2 separate regions of the Homo sapiens genome follow, and region 2 is linked to region 1. The links are contacts of gene promoters, found by promoter capture Hi-C in blood cells and fetal thymus (Javierre and others, 2016). All regions are on one chromosome and are shown on one strand. Each heading gives the region's core, a stretch centred on a gene start or on the middle of the fragment in contact. The rest is flanking DNA. Distances are from core to core; before and after follow the strand shown. Region 1 holds the start of SAMD8 (sterile alpha motif domain containing 8). Region 2 has its middle 89 kb from the start of KAT6B.

Region 1 (7,473 bases), core at 1,628-4,127:
CTGGGAGACTCCCTGCTTTCAGGCAGGCGAAGTCCCTGCTCTCCCTGGTGGCCATACCTGGTCACTGCACTGACCTCAGCACCCCCGGGGGTCCTGGAGAAGGTCCCTGGCCTGGGATGGTCAGAGCAGAGCTATTTCTCCTTGTTTCCACCCTCCTGTGTCTGGTAAAGCGACCAAGAACTGCCTCTCCACGTCCCCACCCCCATGCCCCTTGGCCAGCTACCACTCACGCATCTCCTATGAAAAGGTTGGGCCAAACTTCGTCCACACGGCTGCAAGAAGACTTCCCTGCCCGCAGGAGCTCCTCCAGCTCCAGGATGCTGGGGCAAGGCGTGGCTTTGTCCTCTCCCCCCAGCTCTGGGAGAGAGGTCTCAGCCATGGGCCAGCCCGCCCACCCCTCTGCCTCTGTGGTCACTCCTCTCTGCCTCTCCAGTGTCATTTCTCCTTCCCAGAGATTGACAGGGACAGGTGACAGAAGCAAGTGACTCAGCAAGTCACAGGGGCCTCTGGAGTGGACAAGACCTTTTCCTCCCCAAGCCTCCCCCCACCCCCAAACTCCATGAGAACACAGAATCAGAGAGACCTCTGCAAGTCAGCTACCACCCTGAACCTCAGTTTCTTCATCTGTAAAGTAAGGATAATCACACCTACCTCAGAGAATTTGAGGATTAGATGAAACAAAGGACATGCTGGGTCTGACACATAGTAGGTGCTTAGAAACATCTGTGGAATTAGTAGATGTAGAGCCCTGCCTAAGGCTATTAGGTTCTGAGGACTGAGTTAAAGTAGAGATCCAGGGTGCAGAGGAGGTGGCTGGTTCCAAGGATGAATGATAGAAAGAACTGAAAGAAGTGTACAGTCTAGGTGGGCCACAAATTGGGCAGGAGCTGGATTGGATGTCTGTTGGATGAGTCTCTGAATTACGGAGGTCAGGGACAGTTTTCTGAGTTGTAGAGTCAGAGAAATATGGGTAAGAGACATGGAGAGCTTCCTTTAAAGGGTGCCCACAAGATTCATGGGGGGAGGGGGAAGGTGTTTTTTTTTGTTTTGTTTTGTTTAGACAGGGTCTCACTCTGTCACCCAGGCTGGAGTGCAGTGGCATCATCTTGGCTCACTGCCACTACCACCTCCCAGGTTCAAGTGATTCTCCTGCTTTAGCTTCCTGAGTAGCTAGGATTACAGGCATGTGCCACCATGCCACACTAATTTTTGTGTTTTTAGTAGAGATGGGGTTTTGCCATGTTGGTCTGACTGGTCTTGAACTCCTACCTCAAGTGATCAGCCTGCCTCGGCCTCCCAAAGTACTGGGATTACAGGTGTGAGCCGCCGTGCCGGGCCAATGGGGCAAGGTTTGAACAATGGTCCTGTAGTGAAGATGGCTAACTTCTCAGAAGAGAAGGCTGAAGAGGGCCTTGTATGTCAAATGGGGAGACGGGAGGTGAGTGTTGCCCTAGACTTTGAGAGCCAAAGGGGCTAACTGTCATCAGAAACAGTGGGAGGGAGATTCCTCTGCCTATAAGGGCTTTGGGTCCCAAAATAGAAACTGAGAAAGGTCAACCTGTCCTTCTGCCAGAGCTGGTTATCAGCAAGAGAGATGAGATGTCTCACCCTCTCTCATGTGACTTCTCAGTGGCCCTAATGGAGCTGGGAAGGGTATGAGCTGCAGTGGGGAGGTTCCCAGCTGCCCTTGGCCTTAAGACCAGTTTGAAGGGAAAGGCCACACCAGGGCATCCCATGGAAGCAGTCTACACTCATGTCTATCCCATTCAGAACCATTGAAGTCGGCCCGGCACTGTGTGGGGAGGCAAGACCAAGGAGGGGCTCGTGTCCAGGTTACAGCTGGGTTTGGACTTGGTTTATGCCAATGCTAGACCTGGCTTGGGAGGAGACCTTCCCTCAGGGTGGTGCAGCATGGTGGAGTGAGGAAAATACAGGATCTGATGTTAGAGAGATTTGGGTTGGAATATCAGTTTGCAATATGTCAGGCAGTATGTTTCTTTACTTTTCTGTGCTATAGGATCCCCCTTGCAGAATTAGCACTAGGATTTTTTTTTTGAGATGGAGTTTGCTCTTGTCGCCCAGGCTGGAGTGCCATGGCGTGATCTCGGCTCATTGCAACCTCCATTTCCCGGGTTCAAGCGATTCTCCTGCCTCAGCCTCCCGAGTAGCTGGGATTACAGGTATGCACCACCACGCCCGGCTAATTTTTGTATTTTTAGTACAGACGAGGTTTCCCCATGCTGGCCAGGCTGGTCTCGAACTCCTGACCTCAGGTGATCCCGCCTCAGCCTCCCAAAGTGCTGGGATTACAGACGTGAGCCTCCGCTCCCGGCCTTAGCACAAGGATTAAATGAGATGTTTATATGGCGTTTGGCATAGACACTGTCAAAGAGTAAATGGGCAATAAATTATAACAATGATCATTGGGGGCTGGCTATTGGAGAAGAGCTGGCTCTCTCCAGAGGAATTCGGATTACCTCCTTCTAGGCCCTAACCCCATTTACTGATCCCACAGGCCCCGCCCCGGCTCCGCTAGCCCCGCTTCCTCCTGTCGCTTTGGCCTCCGGCATGACGCATGCGCCCTCGGGCTCCTCCGCGGCAGCATCTCGGTTCTCCTCTCGGGCCCATCTGGAGCCTCGCGTCTTTTCCAGTGTGGGCCCCGCCCCCTGCCGGTAGAACCCCGTCCCCGGCCGGTAGGGCCCCGCCTCCCGAAGCAGTTCCGGTTCGGCTCCGAGCAGCTGCCGGCGCGGCGGTGACGGCGGCCGGGACGATGCCTGCGCGCAGTCGCCACCGCCCCCGCCTCCACTCCGGCTCCCCGCCCCGGGCTCCGCCCCCGCCGCTTGAGGCGCTTCACTCCGGCGAGGCGGGGAGGGCCCCGGACTCCGACGGCGGCTCGGACGCCGACTCGGAGGTGGGTCCGGGGAGCCCGACTCGGACCGCGGAGGTGAGCGGGAGCTGAGGCTGAGGAGAGGGGAGCTTGGGGGGCGCCTGCTGCCAAGGGTGAGTGGGGAGTCTGGGATGGAGCCGGGGGCTGCCGAGGGACCGCGACCTGGAGGGGCCCCGGGGAGACGGTTGAGGGAACCGGGATAGTCAGCTCTGGAATGGAATCTGAAGCAAATGGAGGTTGTCGAACTGAGGGCCTGAAGGCTGAGGGATAAGTGGAGGCCGAGGAACGAGAGGGAGAGAGCGAGAGGGGGAGGCTTGAAGAGCCCAGAGCTTGGGGGCTTTTGAAAGCTGCGCAGTGGGGGAAAAAGATCGAAGGTCCTGCGGGAATGTGGACCCGGAAGAAGAGATGCTCTGGGTTTGGCAGCGGGGATGAGGAGTCAGAGGAGCAAGACCTGGGCCGGTGTTCCCTTCCCAGGGCGAGGGAGGGCGATCGGGGCTGGGACTGGAGCCCTCTCATGGGGTTCTCCTCTTACGGAGCCCTCTTATCCGCCTCCCACCCCGGGTGGGGCTGGTGGTGATGGAGGGCAGGATTTAGGTTTGACTAGAAGGAGGAGGGCTGTTGGATGGGAAATCGTCTGGCCTCAAGGGGTGAGGGAGGCACTGAAAAAGAGAAGTGTGGTCAAGAAAGAAAAGGAGCCCTTGGGGATCTAATTTTGGGCTTTGGCATTTTTACAGGTGCCTTTTAAAACATCAAAGATCACTAGGGCAATGTACTTGGATCGTGGGGCTTTCTCGTTCGTGCACAGTGGATCATTTTAAGAATCTTGGGTGGAAGGGGCGGTGTGAATCACTGATTTGCCTAAAGGACTGGGGGAAGTAGTGGAGAGGAAGTGATGTTTGAAGAAGGTAGTGGAAGACGTGATTCTGAAAATGAAGATATCATTTGGATTTATTGACAGTAATGGTGTCCTTTTTTTCATTGTAATTTTTTCGTAGCTAAGTTTAAATACCAGACATGTTAAGATCCTAAAAATTTACTATATTACCTTTAAGTTTTAAAAACTTGAAACAAGACTTTGGATACTCAGATTTTAAAAATTAAACTTGAAACAAGAATTTGGACACTTGGATTTTACAGATACTCAACATGGACTGGTTCCACTTTCAAAGTTTTAAGTTGACACATGTATTTGCCACATAGTAAATGTATGGTCAATGCAAGTTTCTGGGTGAAGGGGGCACAGTGAACTTGCCACAGTCTAGGCGCAATACCAAATCTTCCTCTCACTGATAACCCCAGGATTGGACTTATCTCTTGAAAATTGGAGAGGTACCTTTGACTGATTGGCAAAACCAATATTGAAATACTATTTTGCAGGTATTGTGTGAATAGTATTTTTAGTAGAGTGATTTGGAAAAATAAGGACAGAGGATGCTTGTAGTTGGCAGCCAACACAACTGGGACAGGTGGGTATACAGATGCTTTTTATAGAAGACATAGTTCCAAAACATAATTATGCCAGAAAAAGAATGATTGCAATATTTATATTCACTTTAGTAGAGATAAATTGACTTCCTTTTGTGATTGTTAAGTCATAACATGGTTCCATGAAGTCTTTGACTTTAGCCACATGTCTCATATGTTTTACAACTTTTTATGTGATTATAGGTTTGTAAAGTTGTTGGCCATTTCTTTTCTCTTCCTTCTTTTCTTTTCTTTCCTTTCTTTTTTTTTTTTGAGACAGAGATTCGCTGTGTTGCCCAGGCTTAAGTGATCCTCCCACCTCAGCCTCCCAAGTAGCTGGGAGTAGCTGGGACTGCAGGTGGGCGCCACCATGGCTGGCTAATTTTTGTTAGCATCAAGCGTTTTCTAAATGCTTGATTAAATCTAAATGGATATCTACTGTTTAATCTTCATGAGATGATAATTTGATTTGCAACAGCTTTTAAATTAGTTTATGTGTATGGGCTATGTGACATACCCTCAGATGCACAGTGGAATAGTAATTGTTTCTTCAAAGGATATGTGAATTCTTAGCTAAAAATGCTGAGATTGTTAAAGTATTAATTCCCTTTTCTTTAACTTAATACAAATTATCTTCAGTTGAAGTTTATGTAATATTACTGTTTGTTGGTTTTATCTTTAGAGTGAGATCCTCTGGAGACCTTATCTTCATACTTAGTTGTGAATAAAAGTCATGGCATGTAAAAATTTGCTGAACTGCAATATAAGAACTCTATTAAGATTACAGCTTAATGTTATTGCAAAATTAAAGAGAAACTGTTAGATGGAGTTGTACAATTAACATATTAGCATGTCTAATAGTTTTTTAATTTTTGTTTCCCTTTGTCAGTTCTCACACCCATTGAATAAAGAAAATCAGTTTTTGGCTAGGTGTGGTGGCTTACTCCTGTAATCCCACCACTTTAGGAGGCCGAAGCAGGCAGATCACTTGAGGTCAGGAGTTCAAGACCAGCTTGGCCAACATGGCAAAACCCCATCTCTACTAATACTATAAAAAGAATTAATCAGGTGTGGTGGCTCACACCTGTAATCCCAGCTACTCAGGAGGCTGAGGCAGGAGAATCTCTTGAACCCGGGAAGCAGAGGTTGTGAGCTGAGATCACACCACTGCACTCCAGCCTGGGCAACAGAGTGATATGTCTCAAAAAAAAAAAAAAAATCGGTTTCTCTAAGGCAGAAGAAGCCATCATGACTGCGATGGCAGAATATGCAGACATATTTAGGTAAATCAGTTTTGATTTCAGTACCATAACCCCCCTTCTGCAAAAGCTTATTCACATTGCACAGTTGCTTATAAACATTTTTTTATTTTGTTAATCATTAGATCCTCAATACTTCTTCAAAACTTTGCTGTTACTGATTAAGACATTTTCATGGCTTTTCTAAGAATTGAAATTTGAACACTTTTTTTGAGAAACTTAAATCACAGATGTTTCCATGAATAGTATTATTATTGTTTTATAAGAATGCCATGTTAACAAGCTATTCTTTCAAGATTTTTACTTCCAGGCCTGATGTAATATATGGTGTTAATTGTTGGGTGTACCTAGCATGCCCGTTAATTTATGGATGGAAATCTTTCCTGTCTTCAGATTCTACCCCCTTCATTTTTCATATGCCAGTGGATTGTTAATGAACTAAGATTGAATTCACTTTTTAATTTTAAAGCTTCTGTAGCTTTGATTCTCTTTGGACATCAAACTGATTTATACGAGATATGAATACAATTGCATATTCTGCTAAATTACCTATGAAGCTCTTTTGAATGATTGTGGTATTTGGTGAAAAAATACAGTATGAGCTAATCAAAATTCTTTTAAGGGATTTAGGTTATAGAGGAGGACTATACTATTTCATTCCCAGATTAGATTAAATGTTTTACTTATTTGCAGAGATGACAGGGGAGAGCCTTGATTATTTTCACGTCTCATGTATTTATATTTGTTTACAAATAAAGAGTTACTTATTTGCAAAATGCCGTATCTTTAATACTTGCTTACATGTGATTTTGGGAATTCTTTTGGAACCAGTTTTTGTTCTTGTTTTTGTTTTGCTCTAAGGGTATGATGTAACACATTGAGGGGTTAATAGTAGGGCAAGAACAGAGAAAGCCATTTGACAACAGATATCATCAGGACAGTGATGCTTACTTTAGGTCTTGTGGTTTTCTTGGCCTTGAGAAATCAAGATGTTAACTAAAAATAGGAGAGCATGGGCCAGGCACACTGGGAAAACAGATTGGTGTTTACATGCTACCGCTGTTGCTTCCTGGTAATTTGCCATATGAATGTGTGGGTATGGATTTGTAACAGACCTGTGATGTGAATATTCCTGAACCCCCTCCTCCCATACACACAGTACCATCATCACAGATCTGAAGCCTAACCTTTAGCTGAGTTCAGTGACTTCATGTTTCCGTATTGAAATGTTCTGTTATTGGGTCCTCACAATACTATAGAATGTAACATACTGCGGGCACGGTGGCTCACGCCTGTAATCTCAGCACTTTGGGAGGCCGAGGCGGGCGGATCACGAGGCCAGGAGATCGAGACCATCCTGGCGAACACGGTGAAACCCCGTCTCTACTAAAAATACAAAAAAATTAGCCGGGCCTCGTGGCAGGCGCCTGTAGTCCCAGCTACTCAGGAGGCTGAGGCAGGAGAATGGCATGAACCCGAGAGGCGGAGCTTGCAGTGAGCGGAGATCACACCACTGCACTCCAGCCTGGGCAACAGAGCGAGACTCCGTCTCAAAAAAAAAAAAAAAAAAAGACTATTAACTAAGAAAAACTTGGTTATAATAGTTTCACCACAGTGTTTCACCATAAAACAATGTTTTATGATATGTACCTCAGAAAAGAGTGTTGTGGGGCAGGGCAGTGAATTATATTTATATTTGTCTAAGTATTTTTTGGTAGTTTTTTTTTTTTAAAGATAGGGTCTCACTGTCTCCCAGGCTGGAATACAGTGGCGCGATCATGGCTTATGCAGCCTTGAACTCCTGGGCTCAAGCAGTCCTCCTGCCTCAGCTTTCTGAGTAGCTGGGACTATAGGCGTGTGCCA
Region 2 (7,473 bases), core at 3,033-5,532, 370 kb before region 1:
TGGCTATTGTGAACAGTGCTACAATGACCATTAGCATACAAATATCTGCTTGAGTCTCTGTTTTCAATTCTTTTGATTATATGTCTAGGAGTAGAGTTGAAGAGTCGTCTTGTAATTTTATGTTTAACTTTTTGAGGAACCACCAAATGGTTTTCCACGGTGACTGCACCATTTTACATTCCCAGCAATGTACAAGGTTTCCAGTTTCTCCACATCCTCATTAACGAACACTTGTAATTTTCTGTGTTTTAAAAATTATTATAGCCATCATAGTGGATACGAAGTGGTAATTCATTGTGGTTATGATTTGCATTTCCCTAATGACTAATGGTGTTGAGCATCATTTCATGTGTTATTCACCATTTATATAACTTCTTCAGATGTACTTTCAAATCCTTTGCTCATTTTTAAATTGGGGTTTTTTTGTCTTTTAATTGTTGAATTGTATTTTTGTATGTTCTAGATGCAATTCCTTCATATGATCTGCAGATGTTTTCTCCAATTCTGTAAGTTGTCTTTTCAGTTTTTTGATGGTATCATCTGTAGCACAAAAGTTTCTAACTTAGCTATAGATTTTTTTTTCTTTTGTTATTTGTGCTTTTGTTATATCTAAGAAACCATTGCCTAGCCCAAAGTCACAAATATTCTGCATTTTCTTCTACGTGTTTTATAGTTTTAGCTCTTAAATTTAGATCTATAAGTAATTTTGAGTTAGTTTTTGTGTATGGTGTGAGTTAGAGGTCCACATTCCTTTCATATGTGAATATCCAATTTTTCATCATTATTTGTTGAAAAGGCTATTTCTTGGCACCCTGGTTGAAAAAAAACAATTGATCATAAATCTATGGGTTTCTGAAATTTTAATTATGTGGCAATTGATTGTTAAAAATCTAAAACTAAAAAACTACAGAAACAAAAACTGGAGAAAATTTTGGTCGTCCATTAGGCAAAAAAAAATTTAGATATGATACCAAAACACAATCCTAAAAAGGACAAATTGATATTTTGGACTTCATAAAAATTGAAAATCTCTGCTATTCAAAAGAAACTATTAAGAATATGAAAAGGTAAGCCACAGAATAGGAGAATATTTTTGCAAAGCTCATATTTGATAAAAGACTTCTATCAATAATGTATAACACCCAGCACTTTGGGAGGCCAAGGTGGGTAGGTCACTTGAGGTCAGGAGTTCAAGACCAGCCTGGCCAACATGGTGAGACCCTGTCTCTTCTAAAAATACAAAAAATTAGCCGGCATAGTGGCACGCCGGTAATCCCAGCTACTCAGGAGGCTTAGGCAGGAGAATTGCTTGAACCTGGGAGGTGGAGTTTGCAGTGAGCTGAGATCGCACCACTACACTACAGCCTGGGCAACAGAGAGAGACTCTGTCTCAAAAATATGTATATACATATATATACACATACATGTATATAGTTTTATATATAACATATATTTTGTTTTATATATAAGTATATTTTTATATATATAACATATATTTTGTTTTATATATAAGTATATTTTATATAGATAACATATGTATTGTTATATACATATTTTTAAAAAACTCTCAAAACCAAAGTTTAAAAAAATCCAATTTTATAAATAGGCAAAGATTTGAACACATATTTCACCAAATAAGTACATGAAAAGACACTTGACCTCATGAAGTGCAAATTAAACCCACAGAGAGGTACCTCTTCACACCTATTAGAATCAATAGAATTAAAAATACTGGGCTGGGTGCAGTGGCTCATGCTTGTAATCCCAGCACTTTGGGAGGCTGAGGTGGCAGATCACTTGAGGCCAGGAGTTCGAGAATAGCCTGGCCATCATGGTGAAACCCCGTTGCTACTAAAAATACAAAAATTAGTCGAGCATGGTGGCAGGCGCCTGTAATCCCAGCTACTTGGGAGGCTGAGGCAGGAGAATCTCTTGAACCCGGGAGGCAGAGGTTGCAGTGAGCCGAGATCATGCCATTGCAATCCAGCCTGGGCAACAAGAGCGAAGCTCCGTCTCAAAAAAAAAAAAAAAAAAAAAGAGACTGGCCGTACGAAGTATTGGTGAGGATGTGAAGGAATTAGAATTCCCATTCACTGCGGGTGAGGATATATAATGGCACAGCCATTTCAAAAGCAGTTTGGAAGTTTCTTAAATGCTTAATATTAATATAGCTATCACGTAACAGAAACATTCCACTCAGATATTTACCCAAGAAAAATGAAATATATGTCTGCAAAAGACTTGTGCATGAGCGTTCATAGCAGCTTCATTTGGAATAGCCCTAGATTGGAAACAACCCAAATGTCCACCAACAGGGGAATGAGTAAGCAAATTGTGGTATATACATTCAATGGAATATTACCCATCAATAAAAAGGAATGGATTATTGAGACAGTCAACATCTTAGGTGAATCTTAAAATAATTACACTCAGTGGAAAAAGCCAGACAAAGAGGAAACACACAGCTAGACCAAAAAAAATACTATAGGATTGCATTTATTTAAAACTTTAGAAAATGCATACTAAACCATAATGACAGAAAGAACAGTGATTACTTGGAAATAATGGAATGATGGAGTGGGGAGAGATGGTCCATTTGGAGACAATTTTTTGTATATGAGATAGACATGATACAGATTGTGAGACCTGAGTTTAAGTATTTGCTGTTGTTGTCATTTTGCATAGGACTATCCAAATGGTGCTGGTACAATTGTTTTCCTATGCAAAACAACAACAGTAACAACAAATACTCAAATTCAGGTCTCACAATTGTATCATGAGATATGGGAAGAATGAATTTCAGAGGGGTACAAGGAAAATTTTTGGAGTGATAGATGACTTTGAAGTGATTGTGGTGATGGTTTTATGAGTGTATTCATAAGCCAAAACTTACCAAATCATACACTTAATATATGTGCATTTTATTGTATGTCAATCACATGTTAATGAAGCCATTTTTAAAATTACGTATGTGTTGATCATGTAAAATGGTGCAGCCACTTTGGCAAACAGTTGAGCGGTTCCTCAGAAAGCTAAATGTGGAGTTGCCATCTAACCCAGAAATTCCACCTTTCCATATCGGCTCAGAAGAAATAAAAACATATGTGCATACTCAGAAATAAACTCGTGCATGAATCTCCATAATAGCCTTTTTTTTTTTTGAGACGGAGTCTCACTCTGTCACCCAGGCTAGAGTGAAATGGTGCAATCTCGGCTCACTGCAACCTCCGTCTCCTGGGTTCAAGCAATTCTCCTGCCTCAGTCTCCTGAGTAGCTGGGATTACAGGCATGTGCCACCACACCAGGCTACTTTTGCATTTTTAGTAGAGATGGGGTTTCTCCATGTTGGTCAGGCTGGTCTCGAACTTCTGACCTCAGATGATCCACCCGCTTCAGCCTCCCAAAGTGCTGGGATTACAGGCATGAGCCACCATGTCCGGCCTGAATATTTGCTCATTTTAAACATAGGACAAATGTGGTGGCCAGGCATGGTGGCTCACACCTGTAATCACAGCACTGTGGGAGGCCGAGACAGGTGAATTGCTTGAGCCCAGGAGTTCAAGACCAGCCCAGGCAACATGGTGAAACACTGTCTCTACAAAAAATACAAAAATTAGCCAGATGTGGTGGCATGCGCCTGTAGTCCCAGCTACTCAGGAGGCTGAAGTGGGAGGATCACCTGAGCCCAGGAGGTTGAGGCTGCAGTGAGCTGTGATTGCACCAGTACCCTCCAGACTGGGCAACAGATCAAGACTCTGTCTCAAAAAAAAAAAAAAAAAAATACACACACACACACACACACACACACACACACACACACACACACACAGTGATTTTTTTGATGCCATGCTTTTTTTTTTTTTTTTTTTTTTGAGACGGAGTTTCGCTCTTGTTGCCCAGGCTAGAGATCTCAGCTAACTGCAACCTCTGCCTTCCGGGTTCAAGCAATTGTCCTGCCTCAGCCTCCCTAGTAGCTGGGATTACACGCACCTGCCACCATGCCCAGCTAATTTTTTGTATGTTTAGTAGAGACGGGGTTCACCATGTTGGCCAAGCTGGTCTCGATCTCCTGACCTCGGGCAATCGATCCGCCTCAGCCTCCCAAAGTTCTGGGATTACAGGTGTGAGCCACCATGCCCAGCTGATGCCATGCTTTCTTAAAATATCATGTGTAAAAGCTTTTAAATAGTCTATTTACAGTTGCTAAGTAATATTTAAGTTCTCTAAAGTCAACTTGAATGTACAAATTACTTTCAAGTCTTGGACAGTTTTTGCCTGTGAGGACTTCCCCATAATCACTAAGAACCTCAGCCCTACTCTGCCCTTGACCTCAGAGTTTCCTTGCCCTCTTGTCGGATTGCTGCCTTGAGAAAGTTCAGACAGAAGCAAGCTTTCTAATCAAGTGCCACCTAATGGTGTGTCAAAATTTGGCTGCCTCAAGTCTTAAATGCACAAATGAATTTTACTGAGTTTGAGGCCAGAATCAAGGACTTATGGTTAGAGGCTGAATGCATGATGGCTGTGTGAATTTGGGGCCTGATGGTGTCTGGCAGTTCATTTTTTCCAAAAGGATGGAGCTGTCTTCTATTTCCTCTTAAATGGAAAAAATTGGCCAGGCAAGTTGGCTCATGCCAGTAATCCCAACACTTTGGCTGGAGGATTGCTTGAGCCCAGGAATTCAAGACTAGCCTGGGCAACATAGGGAGACCCCATCTCTACAAAAAATACAAAAATTAGCCAGGCGTGGTGGCATGTGCCTGTATTAGTCCTAGCTCCTTGGGAGGCTGAGGTGGGAGGGTCTCTTGAGCTTGGAAGGAAGAGGTTGCAGTGAGCCGTGATAAGGAAGAGGTTGCAGTGAGCCGTGATTGCACCACTGCACTCCAGATGGGTGACAGAGGGAAATCCTGTCTCAAAAATAAAATAAAAACATAAAGGGAAAAAAATTATCCTAAAATATTCTATATGGAAAACAAAGAGATAAAAGCTCTGACAGGCATAATGGTCCCACAAAGATCCATGTCCCAATCCCTGCAACCTGTAAGTACATTATGTAACATGCAAAAGGGCCATTGCAGATGTAATTAAGGTGACAGTTCTTAAAATACAGAGATTATTCTGGGTGATCCAGTGAGCCCAGTCTAATCATGTGAGCCTTTAAAAGCAGAGAACTTTCTCCTGCAGGAGGCAGGAGAGATAAGGCAGAAGTCAGAGAGATTCAACGCTTGAGAAGGAGTTAGTGAGCCTTTGCTGGCTTTGAAGGTGAAGGGGCAACGTGACCAGGCGCACAGGAAACCTCAAGAGGCTCAAGGCCAACAGAAAGGAAACGGGACCTCAGCCCTAGCACCACAAGGAGCTGAATTTGACCAACAGCCTGAATAAGCTTGTTAGCAGTTTCCTTCCCAGAGCCTCCAGGAAGTAACAAAGCCCTGCTGCCACCTTGATTTCAGCATTTAGAGACCCTAAGGACAGTACCTTGCCAAGCCCACCCACCAGACTTCTGACTACAGAACTGTGAGAGGCCAGGCGCGGTGGCTCACGTCTGTAACCCCCACATTTTGGGAGGACAAAGCGGGGGAGTAACTTGAGGTCAGGAGTTTGAAACCAGCCTGGGCAACCTGTCTCTATTTATAAAAATCGTTTGTGCGTGTAGAACTGTGAGATAATAAATGGGTGCTGTTTTAAGCTACTAAGTTTGTGGCAATCTGTTACACAGCAATAGAAAACTAATATATGAGCTGCTTGCAAGTAGAGACCCCATGTACTTAAAAGGTTCTCAGATAAGTAAGAGGAATGATTCTTAAATTTTAAAGTTGGGGCTGGGCACGGTGGCTCACATCTGTAATTCCAGCACTTTGGAAGGCTGAGGGAGACAGATCACTTGAGCCCAGAGGTTCAAGACCAGCCTGGCCAACATGGCTAAACCCCGTCTCTGCAAAAAATACAAAAATTAGCCAGGCGTGGTGGTGTACACCTGTAACCTCAGCTACTCTGGGGGCTGAGGCAGGAGGATTGGTTGAACCCCAGAGGCAGAGGTCGCAGTGAGCCAAGATTGCACCACTGCACTCCAGCCTGGGCGACAGAGTGAGAACTGGTCTTGAAAAAAAAAAAATTGGAAGACACATTTAGGGATATAAATAAAAACATGATGGGAGGTATTATATTAGATCACAGAATCAGGACTTTGGGGCTCACATGTTGGCCCTGATGTTGCACTCTGCCGTGGACATGGAACTGGCCTGACAGATTCAGCTATAGTTATAGAAATTCAGAAAGACACAAAGGCTGAAGACAAGTGGGAGATATGGAGCTCTTATTTGTGTCGGCTATCTGCAGGTTCTGTGAGACGGGAACAGTAATGGTGCTGTGTTTTGCCCTCAGCTTGCTGTCACTGGAGTTTTCTACCTACCTTGTACAAAGCCAATCCGTTATCCCCTGCCTCGCAGCATCAGTCCAGTCCTGCACTCGCCAGGAGTATCAAACAGCTGGAAGATGAGGGCACACTTTTCCTCCCTGGGAAAAAAGTCAGTCCTTTCAAGAAGTGAACATACAAGGCCGCTGGTCCCCTTTGAGGGGACAGGACCAAAACAAGAAAGTCATGTCTTGTCATCTGGTGTCTTGTTGTGTAAACCTCCATTCTATCCCATTTCCATAAATTCTTTCAAAGGTTTGAGATGTAGGACAACTGGGGCCTTTTCTCAGTTCGAGTCTTCTAGTTTGAACATTATAATTTAATGTGATTGTTAAGGAGTAAGAATGAAACAATTCCAATGCTACATAAAATAGAGAAATAACGGAAAGTTTCCAGTTTACTTCACAAGCTAACATAACCCTTCCACCAAAACCAGATACATGCACACGTGCGCAAACACACACACACACACACACACACACACCTCAAGCCAGACAGCTTAGTCTCACTTAGGCTATTTATATGGAATTTATAAACACACATCCTAAATGGAATACTAGCAAATTTAATTCATTAGTACAATATACTAAAATAATATTTCATACCCAAGCAGAACCTGTTCCAGAAATGCAAGGATGATCAATATTTTAGAAATGATCAATAGTATATATAGACCGTGTCTGTTTTGTACACTAGTATGGTCCTTGTGTCTGGCACAGTGCCTGGCACACAGTAGCATATAAGTATTTGTTGAGTGACTGAATATTACTATTAATAAGCAGTTCGAAAATAAAATAAGAAGAAAAAGATCTGATGCAAGTACAAATTATAGCAAATATACACGTGTTTGTGTGTTATGTATGTATACACACATCATACATATTCCATACATATACATCTATGTATACATGTATATATGTGTATATGTGTATATATGTATGCATATATACATAAATACATATACATGTGTATATGCATACATATGTGTATATACACATGTGTGCATGCATACGTGTATGTATGTGTATATATGCATATGCACATACATGTGTGCATATGTGTGT

Evidence for each region. Contacts are between HindIII fragments. The CHiCAGO score rates a contact against its expected background, and 5 or more counts as called.
Region 2: a fragment that was not itself captured here is called in contact with the fragment with the promoter of SAMD8 in region 1 in 8 of 17 cell types (M0 macrophages, total B cells, megakaryocytes and 5 more); the score reaches 8.2 in M0 macrophages.

Annotation. Positions count from the first base shown.
Region 1 is chr10:75,108,779-75,116,251 of GRCh38, forward strand. It overlaps SAMD8 (sterile alpha motif domain containing 8), which reads left to right and starts at 2,878. Exons shown (of 6, transcript NM_001174156.2): 1 at 2,878-2,944. DUSP13A (dual specificity phosphatase 13A) reads right to left here and starts at 379. Exons shown (of 3, transcript NM_001007271.3): 1 at 231-379. The coding sequence starts at 379. It also overlaps a transcript of DUSP13B not described here. RefSeq lists enhancers at 1,688-2,637, 2,638-3,586 and a silencer at 2,625-2,964. The HindIII fragment of the contact is 16,308 bases long and covers 1-5,678 here.
Region 2 is chr10:74,733,890-74,741,362 of GRCh38, forward strand. No RefSeq gene overlaps it. Among named protein-coding and RNA genes, the nearest start is that of KAT6B, 89 kb to the right of the region's middle. RefSeq lists an enhancer at 5,432-5,521. The HindIII fragment of the contact is 212 bases long and covers 4,177-4,388 here.